Linked DNA regions of Homo sapiens: region 2 is linked to region 1. Evidence: promoter capture Hi-C in human tissues and cell types (Jung and others, 2019). All regions are on one chromosome and are shown on one strand. The core of a region is centred on a gene start or on the middle of the fragment in contact, and the rest is flanking DNA. Distances in the headings are between cores, read along the strand shown. Region 1 holds the start of MAFF (MAF bZIP transcription factor F). Region 2 overlaps TPTEP2-CSNK1E (TPTEP2-CSNK1E readthrough).

Region 1 (3,220 bases), core at 385-2,884:
GGCCTGAGGTCAGGGGTTCAAAACCAGCCTGGCTGGGCATGGTGACTCACCTGTAGTCCAGCTACTGGGGGGCTGAATTCCTTGAACCTGGGAGGCGGAGGTTGCAGTGAGCCAAGATTATGCCACTGCACTCCAGCCTGGGCAACAGAGTGAGACTCTGTCTCAAAAAAAAAAAAAGAAAAAGAAAAAGAAGCAAGGCCTGCCTTCATAAAACATACATTCTGGTTGGGGAAGACAGACAATAACCAGCACTCACATACATAAATGATGAAACACCCTACAGAAGTATTAAGATAATATAAGAACAAATTTCAAGGCTGGGTGCGGTGGCTTGCGCCTGTAATCCCATTACTTTGGGAGGCCAGCGTGGGTGGATTGCCTGAGTCCAGGAGTTTGAGACCAGTTTGGGCAACATGGCAAAACCCTGTCTCTACAAAAAAAAAAAAAAAAAAAAAAAAAAAAAAATACAAAAAATGAACCTAGCATGGTGGTGTGTGCTTATGGTCCCAGCTACTTGGGAGGCTAAGGTGGGAGAATGGCTGGAGTCCAGGAGAAGGAGGTTGCAGTGAGCCGAGATTGTGCCACTGCACTCCAGCCTGGGTGACAGAGTGAGACCCTGTCTCGAAAAAAAAAAAAAAATTCAGAGGTGAAGACTGCTTTAACCAGGGTGGTCAGGAAATGTCTCTCTGAGGCAGTGACATCCGGGCTGACGTGAAAGATGAGAAAGAGTCAGGCAAGTGAACAGAAGACCAGACAGCCAGTGCCAAGGGCCTGTCGCAGGAATGAGCTTGGTATGTTTGGGGGACAGAAAGAAGGGCACTGTGGCCGAAGAGCAGTGGATGAGGAGAGAGTGGCCAAAGAAGGTGTGTAAACAACCTGAGCTTTGTTTTGAGAAGAACATTGGCTGGTATAGAAAGAAAGACTTTGGAGGCAAAGTAGGGAGCCTCGGAGGCTGCTGCCATTGTCCGGGTAAGCTGATGGTGCCGAGACCAGGTGCCATGACTGGAGGTGGTGAGAAATGGTCCTATGCAGGAGACCTGGAGACACCGCTAGCTTGAGTCCTGAGGTGGGGAGGAAGGGAGAGGGAGGGATGGAGCCAGGCTCCAAGGTTTTGGCTTGAGCAGCTGAGATGGGGTGGCAAGGGAGCAGAGGTAGGGCTGACGATCAGGAGCGGGTTTTTGGGCCGAGTCCTCTGCAGTGCCCATCTGACACCCACTGGATGCGCAGAGTGGGCAGCTGGCTATGAGTCTGGAACTCAGAGAAGCTGTTCGCTCCGGAAATACAAACCTGGGGCTCATAGCCATATAAATGTCATTTAAAGCCACGGGACTGGATGAGATCATTAAGGCAGAAGGTCTAGGTCGAAAGAAGAGGGCCAGGACCACTACCTGTAAAATGAGCCAATGACACCTACACCCACGGGGCTCTCGCGAGGTGTCACGTGAACGCACCCAGCGAGCCCTGGAACCAGGCAGAGAATCGCGGCAGCCCCGGGGGCGGGGCTTCCAGGGGGCGGGGTCATACGGGGGCGGGGCCGAGGGACCAAGCGGCCGCTCCTGGCCGGAGGGCGGCCGGGTCGGTGACGTCACCGCATGACTGGGTTTTTATGAATGAAAGGAATCCTGTGAGTGAGTAATTCCGGGAAGCTCGCCTTACAACTCCGCGCGGCCTCGGCCCCCTGCGCCGCCCGCCCCACAACAAAACTCAGCGCAGCGCTCCCGGGCGCCCGGTTCAGAGCGACCTGCGGCTCAGAGCGGAGGGGAGACTGACCGGAGCGCGGATCGGGACAGCGGCCGGGACAGCGGCGAGACGCGCGTGTGTGAGCGCGCCGGACCAAGCGGGCCCAGAAGCGGGTGAGGAACGCGGGACCAGGAGGACGGTGCGCGGGACCCCAAGGCGGCAGGGTTTCTGCGTCCCGGGATGCGCCTGGGGTGGGCGCCCGGGCCCGATCCGTCGGGGCTCCCGGAGCTCCATCGCCCGGACGGCTCGGGGCGGGGAGAAGGGAGCGGCCGTCCCGGGGACGCCGAGGACGGGGCCGAGGCCAGCTCGGGGGAGTGGGGGTGGAGACGGGGCCCCTTCCCGGGGCGCGGGCGGGTAGGCGGCGGCGCCGGGAGGAAGGGGCAGCGCAGGCCGGCGATCTCCGCGTCCGCCCGGCGGGGGCGGGGGCGCTGTGCTCCTACGTGACTCGGTGGGAACAGGCCCTGGCCCGGCGCCCGCGGGCGGTGCGTGCGCGGTTTGTTTACGTCCGAGGGCGGGCGTGTGTTCCCTGGCGGGCGGCCTGGGTATCCTGCCCGGTGCGTGCGTGCGCTGTGTACCTCGGGGGCGTGTGTGCGTGTGTTGTGCTTGTGTGTGCGTGTCCGCGCGCGCGCTCCCTGGGGCCTGTACACCAGCAGTGTGTACCTCGGAGAGGGCGTGCCCTGGGCCGGCCACCGGAGTAAACGCGGAACAAGGACCCGAGCGAAGGAAGCGGACCCGTGCGTCTTCGCACGGGGTCTGGGAATTCTGGCCCGGGCCGCCCCAGTCCTACTACCCGGGGCTGTCCGTCCCCGGCTCTCCCCGGAGTTTCCCAGGGCCTCCGCCACGTGACCCCAGTGTTTGTCTCCCGCCCAGAGCCCGCGCCCGCAGCCACAGGGTGGGGCAAGGTATCAAAGACCCCACCCAGCTGAGCTAGGAGTGAGGGATGTGAGCCACCCCCGCTTGGCACCCCGGTGGATCTGGTAACAAAGTGAGTTGGAGCCCAGGTTCTTGTCCCCAGATTTTGGGGCTTCCTGGGGAGGGAAGAACCAAGGGACTCTCGTTCGTCCCCAGGGTTGCCCATCCCCTCAGTCCCATGAGAACAGGAAGGGCCAGAAAACCTTGACTGCAAGGGTGCGGCGCAGGGAGAGGACCACAGGCTTTTAGCTAGTCCGGGTTCTGGAGGCTGTACCTGCTAGGTCGTGGAGGATGGGGCGGAGCCGGTTTCCGCTCTCCTGGTAGTTTCAGTTCACAAGTGGGACTGGTGAGACTAGACTGACCTACAGCTGGACGCCGGAAGCTAGCTGAGGCTCTGAGCCAGCCGACAGACCCCGAGTGCCCTCACCCTGGGCCAGGCAGGGTCAGTAGGCATTGGGGATAGAACTCTGACTGCACGGAGGGTTAATGAGTGAGGGGTGGGGCCTGACCTAGCCGCCACCCACCCACTCACCCAATAGCCCTGCAGAAAGCACCTGTTTGTCGTAGC
Region 2 (3,220 bases), core at 462-2,961, 140 kb after region 1:
TCAAGCCATCTGCCCACCTCAGTCTCCTGAGTAGCTGGGACTACAGGCGAGCACCACACCTTTCTAATTTTTCCATCTTTTGTAGAGATGGGGTCTCTGGCCAGGCGTGGTGGCTCATGCCTGTAATTCCAGCACTCTGGGAGGCAGAGGTGGGTGGATCACTTGAGGTCAGGAGTTCAAGACCAGCCTGACCAACATGGTGAAACCTCGTGTGTTCTAAAAATACAAAAATTAGCTGGGTGTGGTGGTGCATGCCTGTAGTCCCAGCTACTTGGGAGACTGAGGCAGGAGGATAGCTTGAACCTGGGAGGGGGAGGTGGCAGTGAGCAGAGAACGCACCACAGCACTCCGGCCTGGCAACAGAGTGAGATCCTGTCTCAAAAAAAAAAAAAAGGTGGGGTCTCACTATGTTTCCCAGGCTAGTCTTGAACTCCTGGGCTCAAGTGATGAACCTACCTCAGCCTCCCAAAGTGCTAGAGTTAGAGGCGTGAGCCACTGCACCCAGGCATTGTGGAGTTCTTTATAATGGGGAGGGTTGGGGCTGGTCTAAGTGTCCAGAGAAGGGGGTTCTTTAACAGAGCAAACACACGATAGAATATTATGCAAGCATTAAGTTATGTTTACAAACAGCTTATAATAATATGAGGAAATATGTTATAATATGAAGAGAATAAAAGCAGGATGTCAATGTGTGGTGACAGCAGGGTCACAGCTATACTTAAAAGCAAAACAATTTATGCACAAGGAAGAGTCTGGAAGGAAAATGTTCACTACGATTATTTCTGGGTGGTGGCACTATGAGGCTTCTTTATTATCCTTCTGTTTTCCTGCTTTTTCAACATCTAATAAGCTTATATCACTTTTATAAAGTTTCTTCATTTCTTTTTTTTTAATTAAAAAAAATTTTTTTTTGATACGGAGTCTTGCTCTGTTGCCCAGGCTGGAGTGCAATGGTGCAATTTCGGCTCACTGCAACCTCTGCCTCCCAGGTTCAAGCGATTCTCCTGCCTCAGCCTCCCGAGTAGCTGGGACTATAGGTGCCCGCCACCACACCCAGCTAGTTTTTTGTATTTTTGGTAGAGACAGGTTTTCACCATGTTAGCCAGGATGGTCTCGATCTCCTGACCTCGTGATCCACCTGCCTTGGCCTCCCAAAGTGCTGGGATTACAGGCGTGAGCCATCACATACGACCTAATTTTTGTATTTTTAGTCAAGGCGGGGTTTCACCACATTGGCCAGGCTGGTCTCGAACTCCTGAACTCAGATGATCCGCCTGCCTTGGCCTCTCAAAGTGCAGGGATTACAGACGTGAGCCGCTACGCCCAGCTAAGTTTCTTCATTCCTTAAAAAGTTCCCAGTTTCAGGGCACGGTGGCTCACACCTGTAATCCCAGCACTTTGGGACGCCAAGGCAGGTGGATCACTTGAGGTCAGGACTTTGAGACCAGCCTGGCCAACATGGTGAAACCCCATCTCTACTAAAAATACAAAAATTAGCCAGGCAGGGCGGCACACATCTGTAATCCCAGCTACTCAGGAGGCTGAGGCAGGAGAATTGCTTGAACCCATGAGGCGGAGGTTGCAGTGAGCTGATATCACACCATTGCATTCTAGCCTGAGTGACAACAGCAAAACTCCATCTAAAAAATAAAAATAAATAAAAACGTAAAAATAAAAACACAAAAATTAGCCAAGCATGATGCCGGGCACCTGTAATCCCAGCTACTCAGGAAACTGGGGCAGGAGAATGGCTTGAGCCCAGGAGGCGGAGGCTGCAGTGAGCTGAGATCACGCCACTGCACTTCAGCCTGGGTGACAGAGCAAGACTCAAGAAAAAAAAAAAGTTCCCATTAGTTGAGCACCTACTATAATCTAGGATAAGCCTCTTTCATGTAATCCTTGCCATAGTCCTGGGGTAGGAATTCTTATTTGTTCATGTTACAGATGAGGAAAGGAGGGTCTGAGAGGTTGATTCCCAAAGTCACATGTGTAGAAAGGGCCAGAGGCCTTTCTGTTCTAAGCCCAACAGGGCCTCTTAGGCAAACTCCTGGTTAGCCACCAGGCTAAAAGGCTACCAGCCCCCACTGGGCTAAAGGGAGTCAAGGAGCAGAGTTTGTTTACCCTTGGGCAACAGCTTCAAAAAAAGGCAGTGTGGAAGGAAACCACAGAGTGTGAGGGGCAGGAGTCTCACCCTGCCTTCTTCCTGAGGGGGAGCCCCTTCCTCCCACCCAGGGGGCTTTGAGGCTGGCAGTGCCAACCCAGAAAGGACCCAGGGAGGACAGAGCTTCCCAGAGTTCAAGCTGCAAGACTGAGAGGTCAGCTATCAGGCCCATCCACCAATAATGTAATATATATATTATACATAATATATATATTACATATAAATATATAATATATAAAAGTATATATAATTTATACATTGTATAAAATATATAATTTATATATTGTATAAATTATATATTTTATACAATGTATAAAGTATATATTTTATACAATATATAAAATATATAATTTATACAATATATAAAATATATAATTTATACAATATATAAAATATATAATTTATACAATATATAAAATATATAATTTATACAATATATAAAATATATAATTTATACAATATATAAAATATATAATTTATACAATATATAAAATATATAATTTATACAATATATAAAATATATAATTTATACAATATATAAAATATATAATTTATACAATATATAAAATATATATTTTATACAATATGTAAAATATATAATTTATACAATATATAAAATATATATTTTATACAATATATAAAATATATATTTTATATATAGCCGGGCACAATGGCTCAAGCCTGTAATTCCAGCACTTTGGGAAGCCAAGACGGGCAGATCACCTGAGGTTCTGGAGTTTGAGATCAATCTGGCCAACATGGTGAAACCCTGTCTCTACGAAAAATACAAAAATTAGATGGACATGGTGGCAGGAGCCTGTAATCCCAGCTACTCAGGAGGCTGAGGCAGGAGAATCACTTGAAACAGGGAGGCAGAGGTTGCAGTGAGCCGAGATTGCGCTACTGCACTCCGGCATGGGCAACAAGAGCAAAAGTCCATCTCAAAAGAAGAAAAGAAAATGTCAGTAGCTTTTAGTATATTCACAAGGTTTTGCAACCACTAATACTATCTAATTCCCCAATTTTTTTTTTTTTTGAGATGGAGTCTCACTCTGTCAC

Evidence for each region. Contacts are between HindIII fragments. The study calls those that stand out against the background at their distance.
Region 2: a contact is called between a fragment that was not itself captured here and the fragment with the promoter of MAFF in region 1, in 4 of the 25 tissues and cell types used here (adrenal gland, hippocampus, mesenchymal stem cells and 1 more).

The regions. Positions count from the first base shown.
Region 1 is chr22:38,200,360-38,203,579 of GRCh38, forward strand. It overlaps MAFF (MAF bZIP transcription factor F), which reads left to right and starts at 1,635. Exons shown (of 3, transcript NM_012323.4): 1 at 1,635-1,853. RefSeq lists silencers at 1,462-1,791, 1,852-2,291, 3,142-3,220. The HindIII fragment of the contact is 8,533 bases long and covers 1-3,027 here.
Region 2 is chr22:38,337,110-38,340,329 of GRCh38, forward strand. The region is part of intron 4 of TPTEP2-CSNK1E (TPTEP2-CSNK1E readthrough); the gene reads right to left. Among named protein-coding and RNA genes, the nearest start is that of CSNK1E, 21 kb to the left of the region's middle. The HindIII fragment of the contact is 6,830 bases long and covers 1-3,220 here.